Regions from separate parts of the Homo sapiens genome. Here regions 1, 2, 3 and 4 are each linked to region 5. The links are contacts of gene promoters, found by promoter capture Hi-C in blood cells and fetal thymus (Javierre and others, 2016). All regions are on one chromosome and are shown on one strand. Each heading gives the region's core, a stretch centred on a gene start or on the middle of the fragment in contact. The rest is flanking DNA. Distances are from core to core; before and after follow the strand shown.

Region 1 (2,700 bases), core at 95-2,594, 1.4 Mb after region 5:
GGCGAGTGCGGCTGCCTCCCGCTCGCCCCGGACGCCCGGCTCCTCGTCGCGGGTCGGCCGCGGCCCACCGTGCCCTCCGACGACGTGACGCACTAGCGCCGCAGCGCCTCCAGCCTTCGCTTCCGCTCCGCGCCCGCGCCCACCGCGAATCCCCCCGCCCGCCAGCGCGGAGCGGCCCCTCCTCGGAGCCTGGGACGCCGCCCTGCCTCCCTCCAGCCCCGGCTTTCAGGCGCCGGCCCGGCAGGTGCGGGCTTGGCCAGCCCGGGGGCGTCACGCGGCCCCCGCCTCGCCACCCGCGCCCCCTCTCTCCGCCCCGGCCGCCGTCACCCGGCAGCGCGACGCCCAGCTCAGGGCAATGGCCTGGTATTAAAGAGTGACCTTGGCTTAGATATAAAAATAGATGCGGTTAAGCCGCGGGGGCTGCAACGCTGATTTTGCGTATTCCTTTAATGCCGACCTTCGCAGGATTCTGTTCGCATAGCCCGGTGGAGTTCTCCAGCCCCGCGTAGGCCCTCCTGAAATTTACCCAGAGTGGGCGCGGCCATCCCGGCCTCGGGACAGGGGTGCAGAGGGCACGGGCGAGGACCGCCGGCCTCCGCCCCACCACTTTCATCCTAAACCTACTGCCACTTAGGTGCATGCAAGTTAGAATCGTGGGCTGCTTTCACAGTCTACAGAAGTCCTAGAGCCCGGACTTTCATCTGGAGATGTCAGGGAAATACCACATTCCTGCGCTGACCTTTTCTCTTTCACCGTTTAACCGGTACAGAATAACCCTGACCCAGAAAGACAACAGGGTTCCATCCGGCTTTCCTCCCGTGCCTCTCCCAGCTCTATTCTACCGTCTTATGGCCTCTGGCGCCTTTGCTAATTACACACTCCTACTGAAAATTAGCCCTCCAGCATTTAAAACATGATAAATTGTCTTTAAGGTAATGCGTATTGTAGTCTAAATATATTTAATAACTGTATTGAGAAACAATATTGTATCTAAGTATTAATGTCAAGACTTTCTTTTACTCATCATCCAAGAACCGTAGTATTATGTTCAGCTCATCCAGAAAAGTTGAAAATTGCTTCTTTCATTCCTGGGAAATATTTAGCAATCACAATACCAACTTTCACGAATTTACTAATGATTAGCAAAATTAGCAAGATCAAAAAATACTTCAAAGAATGCTTGTTGATATAGATATATTTGACCCTGATTTTTAAAAAAAGCTTTTCTGCCATATAAGAATCTATTGTTTCATTTGTATAATATTTAATTAGCCAAAATCTTTACTATTACACATCATTTACCATTTTAATGAAACTTAATGAATTAGATTTAATAGAGCAGGAATTTTGGGTAGTTGGGTTCTACCCATAGCCAGTGATGAATGAAATTATATGACTTGTATTTACATTTCTAGAGCTATGTGTAAGTAGGAGTCCCCAGGGTAATCCCAAACAATTGCCATTTGGGGAAGCTTTGGCTACCAGACTATGCCCTACAGATGTTGAAGCCTCAGGCCTTAGTGTAAAGCTAACCAATACAACTTGTTGATAATATTTGAAATGCCTGGGTGTGATTGACTCTTAGCTATTGTTTTAGAAGTATGCGGGTATTTGTGCCTGGGTCAGGGAGGCCTGGCTCCCAGATGTCTGGCTATTCTGGTAGGAGACAGAACTACATTCACCCAGACCTATAAAAGAAAAGGTCCAATTTTTTTTTTTTTTTTTTTTTTTTTTTTTGAGACAGGGTTTCACTCCCACAGCCTAGGCAGGCTGGAATGCAATGGCGCGATCTCGACTCACTGCAACCTCTGCCTCCCAAGCTCAAGCGATTCTCCGGCGTCAGCCTCCGGAAGAGCTGGGACAGAGGTGCACACCAACGCACCTCGCTAATTTTTGTAGAGACGGAGTTTCGCCATGCTGCCCAGGCTGGTCCTGAACTTCTGAGCTCAAGCGATCCGCCCGCCTCGGCCTCCCAAAGTGCTGGGATTACAGGCGTGAGCCACTGCGCCAGGCCTGATTCTCTTTTCCCTACTTGCAAATGACACTATTTTTGAGAGTTTTTGGTTTTTTCTTTTTAAATCACCATTGACTTCCCTCTTTGGCTGAGATAAATTTTGCTTATCTTAGTGGGCAAAGAACAACAACTAAAAACATGAGCCTTTGTCAGATTAGTATATGCTGAAAATTGTTACCACAATATTTTGAAATATGCTTTGAGGCTTTTTTCTGAACCGTTTTTAGAGTAAAAGGATTATTGCTTTGGTTTTTGTTTTTGCAATGCTTGCTTTAATTATTACTTTGTTATTAGCAAAGGAAACATGTTAAGAGTTCGTTCTGATTGTATTTTTCCTCTATGTTTAAAGAGGAGTGGAACCATCTTAAGTAAAAGAAGCTTGCCACAACCCTGGATTTTGGAGGTTACTAATACACATGACCCAGAAAAGAGCTCTTTAGTTGCACTGGGGAAGAGGAATTCTTAATAGCTAAAATCATAACTGATGTTTTTGACAGCTAACAAATTGCCAGGCACTCTACAGACTTCTTTATGGAAATTAATTCACTTAATCCTCTTACCATCCTTGCAGGTATACACTGTTACCCCCAGTTTACCTAAGAGGAGTCTTGAGGCACACAGAGAAACTAAGCAATTTGCCCATGGTCACACAGATAGTAATCCTAGCATGTTGGCTCAAGAGCACA
Region 2 (2,700 bases), core at 65-2,564, 1.3 Mb after region 5:
TTCTGTAGTTTCACAGATTTGTCATTATAATCAGATGGCATCCTGAATGGTGTCAGTTTCTTACAAGCTTGATTAATGAGTCTGTTACTAAGAAACTGATTTAGTGATTTTTTCCCCCCATCCCCATGCACACAAAAATGAAGACTGCAAAATGTTGTGACGTTTAAAGTACTACACCCTAAAAGACCTTATTAGGTGACTGGGTGACTCCATAACCAGTTTCTGTAACAAAGACTCCTCTGGGTCTCCTCCAGTCTCATATTGCCATCAACCTAAAGAAAGCTGACAGTCCACTCCTTTTTTCATCATGGAAGGTAGCCGAGTTATATAAAGACTTGGAATCAGGATATTAAGGTTTGAGTCTGTTTACCACTCACCATTTAATCTGGAAACAAGTCATTTAACCTGCTGATCCTTGTTACATCATTTGAAAACAGAGGAGAGGGGATGTGTTTGTTGTGAGGTTATTGTGTTTAAGTGAGCCAGTTGTGAGCTAGCATAGTGGCCTGGTATATATAAAGTCCTTAGTAAGTCTAAGTGTAGATGACTAGACAGTAAAAATCTGGGTATGTTGCTAGGTAGCTATTACAGGGTGAAAAAAAAAAAAACTTTTCAGAGGCTAGCTGTGGTGGCCTGTAATCCCAGCACTTTGGGAGGCTGAGGTGGGTGGATACGTTGAGAGCCCAGGAGTCCAAGACCAGCAGGCAACATGGCGAAACCCCATCTCTACCAAAAAAAAAAAAAAAAAAAATAAGCTAGGCATGGTGGTGCGTGCCTGTAGTCCCAGCTACTCAGGAGCCTGAGGTGGGAGGATGTCTTGAGCCCAAGAAGTCCAAGCTGCAGTGAGCCAAGATCACGCCACTGCACTCTGGCGTGGGCAACTGGGCAAGACCCTGTCTCAAAAGAAAAAGAAATTCTTAAGTATTTGTGTGGGTGTTTTCCCCACATATTTATACTGTAACCATCAGCTTTTTACTCTGTAAAACATATTTTGTTAGCTTCTTTAAGATGACATTATTCAACCATAGTTTTTTGGAGATGGTTGAAAAAGATAAGCGAAAACGACCACTACTCATCACTGTTAACATTTTGGACGTAAACATTCTTATGTTGTGTTTGACTTACTAGGGCTTGCGTTTCAAGAAAGCCCATGTAACACATCCTGAACTGAAAGCCACCTTTTGCCTACCAATACTTGGTGTAAAGAAGAATCCCTCATCCCCACTGTATACAACTTTGGGTGTTATTACCAAAGGTACTGTCATTGAAGTAAATGTGAGCGAATTGGGCCTTGTGACACAAGGAGGCAAAGTTATTTGGGGTAAGTGAATTTTTGAATACAGGGCTGCTGTGTTCTGCAGTACTAATAGAAATACTATTCAAGTTGATGTATTAATAAAATATACAGCAAATTTTTTTAATGCAGTAGAGCTAAAACACTGTAAATCAGATGTAAATATTTAGTAAAAAATACTTTATAGAAAAAGTTGTTATAAATACAATTGTTTTAAAATTTAGCTTACTGGTTTTAGTTACATAAGGTGTAATACATTCTGCTAGATTTATTTTTATCCTTTTTAGCCAGGCACAGCAGCTCACGCATGTAAATCCCAGCACTTTGGGAGGCTGAGGCGGGTGGATCACCTGAAGTCAGGAGTTTGAGACCAGCCTGGCCAACATGGCAAAACCCCACCTCTACTAAAAATACAAAAAAATCAGCCGGGTGTGGTGGCGAGCACCTCTAATCCCAGCCACTTGGGAGGCTGAGGCAGGAGAATCACTTGAACTCAGGAGGCGGAGCTTGCAGTGAGCTGAGATTGTGCCACTGCACTCCAGACTGGGAGACAGAGCAAATCTCCATCTCAAAAAAAATTTTTTTAACCTTTTTAATAAAAATTATTATAAGGGAAGCAGATGCAAAGTTATAACTAAGAAATATTATAAGAAAATAGAATAAATTAACCATGAGCAGAGGAAGGGAGGCATATATCAAACATATTTTAAAAGTGAGGTCAGCTTACATGAAGTATTAGCCAATGACTAAAGATGTCTTCCGTAAGAAAAAATTTCTTTTGCCACAACTTTATATTATGTAAATACTTCTTATATTTACATGCTAACATTAAGAGAAAATACCTATTACATTTAAAGAAATAGAACTATCTGTCCCACGTAGGTAAACTGATCATTGAAACTGCCAGGAGCGGTGGCTCAGCCTGTAATCCCAGCACTTTGGGAGGCTGAGGCGGACAGATCATCTGCAGTCAGGAGTTCAAGACCAGCCTGGCCAACATGGTGAAACCCCATCTCTACTAAAAATACACAAATTAGCCAGGTGTTGTGGCCCACACCTGTAATCCCAGCTGCTCCGGTGGCTGAGGCAGGAGAATCGCTTGAACCTGGGAGGTGGAGCTTGCAGTGAGCTGAGATCGTGCCATTGCACTCCAGCCTGGATGACAGAGCGAGACTCTGTCTCAAAAAGTAATAATAATAATTGAAAGTGATTTAACACAGTTTAGTTCGTTCTGTTAATTCCCATTAACAGGTCTCAGAAATCATGTAGAAGCTTCCAGGCTTTAAAAAGCCCCCTCGCTATCTGGGCGCAGTGGCTGACACCTATAATCCCAGCACTTGGGGAGGCCGAGGCAGGCGGTTCACTTGAGACTGGAGTTGGAGACCAGCCTGGCCAACATGACAAAA
Region 3 (2,700 bases), core at 63-2,562, 1.9 Mb before region 5:
ATAGTGCCTGGTGTGGTGGCTCATGTCTGTAATCCCAGCACTTTGGGAGGCTGTGGCGGGCAGATCGCTTGAGTCCAGGAGTTCAAGACCAGCATAGCCAACATGGTGAAACCCCTACAAAAATAAAAAATTAGCCGGGCTTGGTGGCACAAACCTGTAGTCTCAGCTACTGGAAAGGCTGAGGTGGGAGGTCAAGGATTCAGCGAGCTGTGATCGTGCCACTGCATTGCAGCCTGGGCGACAGAGTGAGGCCCTGTCTCAAAAAATGAAATAAAGTAAAAAATAAAAATAACTACATAGCGAAAATAATCAGAAGAATGTTTAAGGTCTCCAGTGAAAGGACAACAGGCTTGTTGTGCTGTTCGCAAGCACGTGTTAGATGCGATTCACTCATGTTGTTGGTGTGTCACTGGGGGTTGTGACTGCAAGTTGTCCAGGTTCTTGGCATTGTGAACAAAGAATTGGACAAAACGCCCAGCAAAGCAAAGAAAGAACAAGGCAACGAAAGAACGAAAGCAGGGATTTACCGAAAACGAAAGTGCACTCCACAATGTGGGAGCGGACCGAGCAGAGCTCAAGGGCCCGGATATAGAATCTTCTTGGGTCCAAATACCCACTAGAAGTTTCCTATTGGCCATTTTATGCTCACCTCAAACCCGATTGGTTGCAAGAAGCAAGCAGTCAGAGGCTAGGGTGAAATTACAAAGTTATACTTCTATGCAAACGAAGACTGGACCCCCAATCAGTCTGATTGGTTGTGGACAGCAACCATTCAGAGGCTGGAGTTAAGGTTCAAACTTGGCAAAGCAAGCCTCCACCAGCAGTAAGTCTGATTTGTCGGGGACAGCCAATTTCCTATCTGCCCTGCGGAAAAGGTGGGGGGGTTTGCAAAGGGAGTAGCCTTTGGTCCTTTTGTTACTTAGGCATGGAAAGTTAGGGTTTTCCTTTCAGTTTAGCTCTAGGAAGTCAGCGTGAGACAGCCTTAGGTTCCCTGCTTCCAGACTTATTCTCCTGCCTTAGGTACAGTCACTATCGTGATATTATCTATCGCTGTGTCAACACAACACCAATCCAAGCCCAACCGCAGCTCTCTCACTGCCGCACCGCTTCGTGAGGGTCGATCCGCCGGGGAGACCTGCTCTCCTGCGCTCGGGACTAGACGCGACCTCGCGGGGCTGAGGCTCTGTCCCTTATTGGCTGGGTCAGGGGGCGTGGCGCGGCTTGACCAATCGCGGGCGGCGCGCTTAGGCACGTGTGTGGACAGGCCTGAGAATCAGAGAAACCTTCTCTGGGGCTGCAAGGACCTGAGCTCAGCTTCCGCCCCAGCCAGGGAAGCGGCAGGGGAAAGCACCGGCTCCAGGCCAGCGTGGGCCGCTCTCTCGCTCGGTGCCCGCCGCCATGTGGGCCGTCCTGAGGTTAGCCCTGCGGCCGTGTGCCCGCGCCTCTCCCGCCGGGCCGCGCGCCTATCACGGGGACTCGGTGGCCTCGCTGGGCACCCAGCCGGACTTGGGCTCTGCCCTCTACCAGGTAGGCTGAGCGCCCCGGTGGCCTGGCCGCCGGTGCCAGGCTAGGAAGCAAGTGGAGGAGGGGCACGCTTCAACAACTGCTGCTCTCTTGTCCGGAGCCCCAGTTGATTCTGTGACGCACGTGAAGTTTGAAGAAGAAAAGCCTAACAGATACAAGAAAGTTTAGTTCACTTTTAGAGCTGGCACTGTACTTTGTGTCTTTGAAATCAGTGGTTCTTAAAGCCTGGTTTAGAATTGCCACCTGGGGAGCTAGCTGAATAGCTGCCTGAGCCCTACTCTGGACCTTGTGGGTCTCAGGTGGAGTCGCTGTGTTTATATTGTTAGTGAACTCATTAGGGGACTTTTGGCAGCCAGCTTTGGGAACCACTGGCCTAGAGCAGCCCAACGAGGGGCGCTGTGCTTAGGAAATTTGAGTTTAAAAGTTGATTATGATGGCCGAGCCCAGTGGCTCACGCCTGTAATCCCAGCGCTTTGGGAGGCCCTGGCGGGTGGATTACCTGAGATCAGGAGTTCGAGAACAGCCTGGCCAACGTGGTGAAACCCCATCTCTACTAAGAATACAAAAATTAGCCGGGCATGGTGGCGCGCGCCTGTAATCCCAGCTACCTGGGAGGCTGAGGCAGGGGAATCGCTTGAACTTGGGAGGCGGAGGTTGCAGTGAGCTGAGATCGTGCCATTGCACTCCAGCCTTGGCAACAAGAGCGAACTCTGTCTCAAAAAAAAAAAAAAAAAAAAGTTGGTTATGTTAATAGAAAATATCCCACAGTATCTTTGAGTGGCTTTTCTTGGAATTAGGAGGCATCATAAGGCCAAAAAACTCAAAACTTGCGAAATATCAGAGCTGGAAAATTTCACTGTGTTCCCACGATTTCTAAGCCTATACAGATAACATCTAAATAGTGCAAACAACACACAATTGTTTGTCAGTCCAGAATGTTTAATTCAGAATTATTAAGTGGTTATTGTGGTCTAGGCACTATTTTAGATATTTGGCATGGATGCGTAGGAATGGAACTAATAATTTTGTAGGGAAGATGGACAAGAAAGCAGGTAACTGTGGTACAGTGTAAGAAGGGTTGTCTAAAGCTTGAGAAGGTGGTTACAGAAAGCTACCGATAGGAAGTAATGGGTGAGATGAATCTTGGGTAAGAGCTGGCCAAGTTCAGGGTGCAGG
Region 4 (2,700 bases), core at 95-2,594, 1.2 Mb before region 5:
TAGATGTAACTGTCAGAGGCCAAAGGCAAGATGGAAACATGAACTTGGAGTGTTTAGAGGAGCAGTCCCTTTGAGGGGAGCAGTCCTTTTGAGAGCATGTGATGATCTACAGTGATGGAGAGCTTTAGTTTCAGTGACTTATGGGGACAGAGGATAAAACCAATACTTGTAAGATGAGAAGCTTGTTCAGAGATCCTCAGGTAAAGCCAGGACCACCTAAGGGAACTACACCTGAAGTGAAAAGGTAAAACTTATCACTACAATAATGCACCCTAAAAAGTAAACAACCGGGACACTTGTCCCCTGAAGATTATAAACTACAAGTCAGCCCTCATGCCTCTTTGGGGATTTAATCCACTCTTCTTTTGTGATCCAAAATATACCAAGCTGAGAATTTTGTTTGAAGAGTTGACTTCACTATATAAAATTCTAAAAATTGTGAACTATTCTATAGAAACAAAAAAGCATATCCATGGTTGCCTGGGAATTTGGGGTATAGGGCCAGAAGCGGAAGGAGAAAAGGGTTAAAGAATAGGAGAAAACTTTGGCAGGTGACACATATGCTCATTATCTTGATCATGGAGATGACTTTATGGACATATACACCTGTACATTGGTCAAAACTGATCAAATTGTACATTTAAATATACATAGTTTATTTTATGTGAAGAATACCTCATCAAAGCTGTAAAAAGTAAACAATGAATAAGTTAAAAAGCAGGTTAGACACAGGTGAAGTGAGAGTGAACTGAAAGGCAGATAATTACACAGAATGCTGCAAAGATAAAAATGAGAACTGTAAAAGAGCAAAGATATAGAAATATGAATAAGAATGTATGATGAGACAATGATGAGAATTTTTTAGAATTGATAAAAAATATAGGTTTCTAGATTCAGGATATGTATACAATCTCAAGTCAAAAAAGTAAAATTATTATTTCAAAAACGATGAATGAGAGGATCTCAAAAGTGGCCAGAAAGAAAAGAGAAATTACAAAGAAAGAAACAACTATACTAACAGGTGTTTTCTCAATAGGAATGATAAAATCCAGAAAATAGAATAAAATGTTCAAAATGTTGCAAGTATAAACTATCAACCTAAAATTGCATATCTAGCAAGATTATCTTTAAAAAATAAGGGCAAAATATGGGTATGCTGGCATGTGCTTGTAGACCCAGCTACTCAGGAGGCTGAGGTGGGAGGATCACTTAAGCCCAGGAGTTGGAGGCCAGTGTGGGCAACACAGCAAGACCTCATCTCAAAAAAAAAAAAAAAAAAAAAAAGATAAGGGCGAAATGAAGACATTTTTGGACAAACAAAAACAGAAAATGTATTAGCAACAAATACTAAAGGAAATTTTTAGAACTCAATAAAATTGGTTAAATTGGGGGGGAACTGACTGTTTAAAATAATGTTATATGTGTTTTAAAGGATAAAACTTTATTATTAGACAAGAGCATATGGTTAGATGTGTGTGTGTGGACCTAAGGTGTCCTAAAGGATAGTAGAGTGTGATGAGCATTACAATTTAAGCTAGATATGCATTTTAGAAGTTAAAGGGCAACAATCTCTAAAAAAGTAGAGGATATAATCTCCAGACCAGTGGAGGGGAAAAAAACGTAAAAAACAAAAACAATCCAAAAGTAAAAATCAATCCAAAAATAAAAAATAAAGAAAAAAAAGAAAGATGAAACCAATCACAAAATGTGACAGAAATAAATCCAATTATATTGGTAATCATGAAATGATAATGTAAATAGACGAAATTTTCTAGTTAAAAGATAATGATTGTCAGATTGGTTAAAAATATAAAAGCTAGCTATATAAATCATATAAACACAGAAGAGTTGAAAATTATTAAAAACACACTAGGAAGCCAAAATAAAGCTGGTACAGTTGTATTAATATCAGACACAATAGATTACAGGCAAAAAGCAGTTTTATAGATTATGTGGGTCACTACATAATGACCAAAAATTCATTTTGCCAAGATAATTTTAACCTGGTGCACACCAAAGTAACACAGCTTCACAGTACATAACCACAAAATCTGTAGTACAGATGTGTTGAAAAACAAGCCTCTTAAAAAAGAGTGTGGTCTCTGGGGCAAAGTTGTGATAATGAAGGTCACTGAAGAAAAATATGAATCCTTTATTGAATCCTTCTAGCTTCAGGTGAGAAATGGTTTCAGTTTTTCTTTTCTACATAACTGCACATTACTGTTAACCTTTCAGGCAACACTAAACTCTTTCTGGGCTTATGGTCATCTGCATACCTTACCTAATTTATATAATAAAGAAACAGGTACAGATTATTATTGTCCTTCCTAGAAGAACTGATCTTGAAAAATACAGGCTGAAACTGTTTTTGTTTCCCACATTTTAAAAGAAAAACGAGGACACATGACATATATCATGCATTGAATATACAGAAGGAAGTATGGAAAACTAGCCTAGCAACCAATTTGGACATAGATTTTTAGACTTCCTTCTATTTGTCTGTCACCAGAAGCTTTAACATAAATAAATCCAATAAAGGAAAAACATGAAATCAAGCTTTGTGTACATATATATTAATGAGACTAAAGAACGGTGATGTGCACAAGTCAGACCCATCTCTAGAACTTGGCAAATATGGAAACTGGAAAATGAATAGATGCCACAGAGATGCAAATACAGAACTGACAAAAGTTAAGAAAG
Region 5 (2,700 bases), core at 6-2,505:
CAGCATAATGTTGGTACTGCCATTTTGGCCTTTGTCATTAGGAAGGTAACCCACATAAGCCTAACTACAAACACCCTTACCTGTACTAAAACTTCACTCATATTTAACTGAAGCAACATTGTTTTTTGTAAATATAACTGTAACAATTATTCTAAAAGGCAATACAGCTGTCCTCACCAGTTATGTTCTTGAGACATCAGTTGCAACAAACTTATATGTAAAAAGTATTCAAAAAGTTTAAACATTGATCTTAACTGGAGAGGGGTCTGCACTTGAACAAGTTTTCTTGCTACACACATTGCATTCTAAGATTTCGGACTCACTTTTGAATATGCAAAGACATTTCATGGTTAAGACCACAAAAAGGCTGATCAGAGAACATTTTTATTTAAATTGCCATTTTAAATATCAGTCGTTTTATCTTAAAGCTTGTCCTGGGTTTAACAAAGTTTAACTCACATCCACGCGTTGTCTCTCCAAACACAGCAGGCAGAAATTCTCCTTTGATTGGATTAAGATAGATAAAGTCTGCTTAACCGTGAATCGCTAATTGTCAAATCCATGCCAATTCGGTACCTAGGAGTCAATTTTTTTGCCTGATAAACAAGATAATTGTGTGGACCGTTTTAAGGTGGTTAGTCATCTGCTAAATTGGCTGAAATGCGGATTACCCAGTTCCTTCGTCGTACAGAGTTGCATTCTGAGGAGTGGGGCTCGGGGATACAGCCCCCAGAAATTCTGAACCTCGGTCCCGCAATCTACCACACCACCTAACCTTGGAAGGCCAAACTAACTTCACTATTTTTGACAAAATGCTTTGGTAATGGCTCATTCGGGCCGAGAGGGAAATTCTGCAATTCTCCAACCCACACCTCCAGCAAGGGGAGAGCTGCTTGAGTGGTGAGCACAAGCTGGGCACCTCCGGCGTCTCCAGGAAACGTGAATAGGCCCTTTCTTCGGAGGGCACAGAACTTCAGGATCAGGGCCCAATGGAGACTGAGCGGACTTAACCCTAACTGTGCACAGGACCGCGCTCTCCGACCCCTTTGTGGCCTCTCCCAGAGGTACGGGCTGCGCCCCAAGCCAGCAGTCTCTCGTAGGGCCTACAGCCGGCAGCCGCTGGAGCAGGAGGAGGAGAATAGGGACTCGCTGGACCATCACAAACGCTGTCGCGCGTGCGCAGGGAGGAACCGAGTTCGCGGCGAAGTCAGTTTCCTGACTCTTGAAGGAAGTGGCCTTGTGTCACTTCCGGCCTCCCTTTAGCTGCCATCTTGCGTCCCCGCGTGTGTGCGCCTAATCTCAGGTGGTCCACCCGAGACCCCTTGAGCACCAACCCTAGTCCCCCGCGCGGCCCCTTATTCGCTCCGACAAGGTACAAAAAGGCTCTGGACGGCGGCGTGGTAGGAGGACGGGAGCGGGGGCGGGAAGTTCCCTGAAGGAGCGAGACAGGGAGGGACAGGGCAGAGGAGGAGAGGAAGGCGATGCGACGGACAGGCGCACCCGCTCAGGCTGACTCTCGGGGGCGAGGTCGAGCCAGGGGCGGCTGCCCTGGGGGCGAGGCGACGCTGTCTCAACCTCCACCTCGCGGCGGAACCCGAGGACAGGAGCCTCAGGTACCGCGAGGCTTGCGGAGAGTGGCCGGGCCGGGCAGGCCCTGGCTAGGCCGAGGCCAGGCCAGGGCCAGGGGTGGGGGGTGCTGGCCAGGCGTGGGGTAGAGCCTTTCATCCGGGCCTGCCAAGAGCGGGGAGCTGTGGGGGAGTGGTGGGGAGGCGGGTGCTCTTTGGGCTCCCTGGAAACCCAAATTTGGAGCTTTGCGGGGTGGATTTGGGATCCAGGTTTCGGCCTGTGTAGGACGTTTATTTTCCTGCTGGTATCTTGGGAAATAACGAGCATGGAATGCTAGAGTGAGCTAAACCTATCCTTGCTGAGGATTTCCTCTTTTTCTAGATGAAAGAAACAATCATGAACCAGGAAAAACTCGCCAAACTGCAGGCACAAGTGCGCATTGGTGGGAAAGTAAGTTTTAATAGTTCGGGTTTGTGGGTTTTTTTTTTAAGGTTTAGGTATTTTAAAAAACATATTCCTTTTGCGCTTCTTATATTATCGGTGACAAACTTTGCCTATCGAGGGAAATTCACGGAGCTAGCAAATCTCGAGGAGCGGGGGAGACGAGGGTTGGAGACACATCAGTGAGACGAGCTAAAAACATCGCCTTTGTGTAAACATGTTTGTGTTTTCAGTGTTACAGAGTGTAAGTAGAACACAAAAGTGTTTCCTAATTTAATTAGTAAGGAAAATGTGTCATTTCAGTTAGATCGTTGTGCACATCATACCCTTGACTTGTTTTGGCCTGAGTTTTCTAAAGTCAGTGCTTGTTTGTCTCTCTTGTAAATTGAGACCTTTCTGTACTGCTTTCTGAACTAAATATTCTTTAGGGTAGTTGCATATTTCAAGGGTATTTGAAGATACGGGTACATTTTGGAGTTTAAGAGCAGTGACTATTAGATTTGAAAATATAACCCAAGTAGGTATCTTTCCTGTTCTGACTTTGTATTACTGTAAAAATGAGGGAATTAAAGTGACTGATTTTTAAATGATCAGTTTTTGATTAATTGTTTTTTTCCTGGTGGATACTGATTCACATCAAGGGGATTCTTTTTTGAAGCTGATTTTTAGATTGTCCTGTAATTAATAAGAAGT

The links. Contacts are between HindIII fragments. The CHiCAGO score rates a contact against its expected background, and 5 or more counts as called.
Region 1: a contact is called between a fragment that was not itself captured here and the fragment with the promoter of BTF3 in region 5, in 3 of 17 cell types (total B cells, fetal thymus and naive CD4 T cells). The highest score is 5.6, in total B cells.
Region 2: a contact is called between a fragment that was not itself captured here and the fragment with the promoter of BTF3 in region 5, in 2 of 17 cell types (total B cells and fetal thymus). The highest score is 6.5, in total B cells.
Region 3: a contact is called between the fragment with the promoter of MCCC2 here and the fragment with the promoter of BTF3 in region 5, in 4 of 17 cell types (fetal thymus, total CD4 T cells, naive B cells and 1 more). The highest score is 11.3, in fetal thymus.
Region 4: a fragment that was not itself captured here is called in contact with the fragment with the promoter of BTF3 in region 5 in 3 of 17 cell types (naive CD4 T cells, total CD4 T cells and total B cells); the score reaches 6.7 in naive CD4 T cells.

What each region holds. Positions count from the first base shown.
Region 1 is chr5:74,866,294-74,868,993 of GRCh38, forward strand. It overlaps FAM169A-AS1 (FAM169A antisense RNA 1), which reads left to right. Exons shown (of 1, transcript NR_134288.1): 1 at 1-982. FAM169A (family with sequence similarity 169 member A) reads right to left here and starts at 94. Exons shown (of 13, transcript NM_001376049.1): 1 at 1-94. RefSeq lists a silencer at 1-30. The HindIII fragment of the contact is 251 bases long and covers 1,220-1,470 here.
Region 2 is chr5:74,772,740-74,775,439 of GRCh38, forward strand. It overlaps NSA2 (NSA2 ribosome biogenesis factor), which reads left to right. Exons shown (of 6, transcript NM_014886.6): 5 at 1,129-1,321. Among named protein-coding and RNA genes, the nearest start is that of NSA2, 6.8 kb to the left of the region's middle. The HindIII fragment of the contact is 2,499 bases long and covers 66-2,564 here.
Region 3 is chr5:71,586,028-71,588,727 of GRCh38, forward strand. MCCC2 (methylcrotonyl-CoA carboxylase subunit 2) reads left to right here and starts at 1,313. Exons shown (of 17, transcript NM_022132.5): 1 at 1,313-1,527. The coding sequence starts at 1,399. RefSeq lists an enhancer at 972-1,758. The HindIII fragment of the contact is 6,273 bases long and covers 1-2,610 here.
Region 4 is chr5:72,302,622-72,305,321 of GRCh38, forward strand. All of the region lies in intron 2 of MRPS27 (mitochondrial ribosomal protein S27), which reads right to left. Among named protein-coding and RNA genes, the nearest start is that of MRPS27, 16 kb to the right of the region's middle. The HindIII fragment of the contact is 2,331 bases long and covers 180-2,510 here.
Region 5 is chr5:73,497,187-73,499,886 of GRCh38, forward strand. BTF3 (basic transcription factor 3) reads left to right here and starts at 1,256. Exons shown (of 6, transcript NM_001037637.2): 1 at 1,256-1,613; 2 at 1,948-2,016. The coding sequence starts at 1,482. BTF3-DT (BTF3 divergent transcript) reads right to left here and starts at 1,134. Exons shown (of 1, transcript NR_186388.1): 1 at 367-1,134. RefSeq lists enhancers at 1,091-1,150, 1,181-1,480, 1,244-2,054 and a silencer at 1,691-1,740. The HindIII fragment of the contact is 2,385 bases long and covers 427-2,700 here.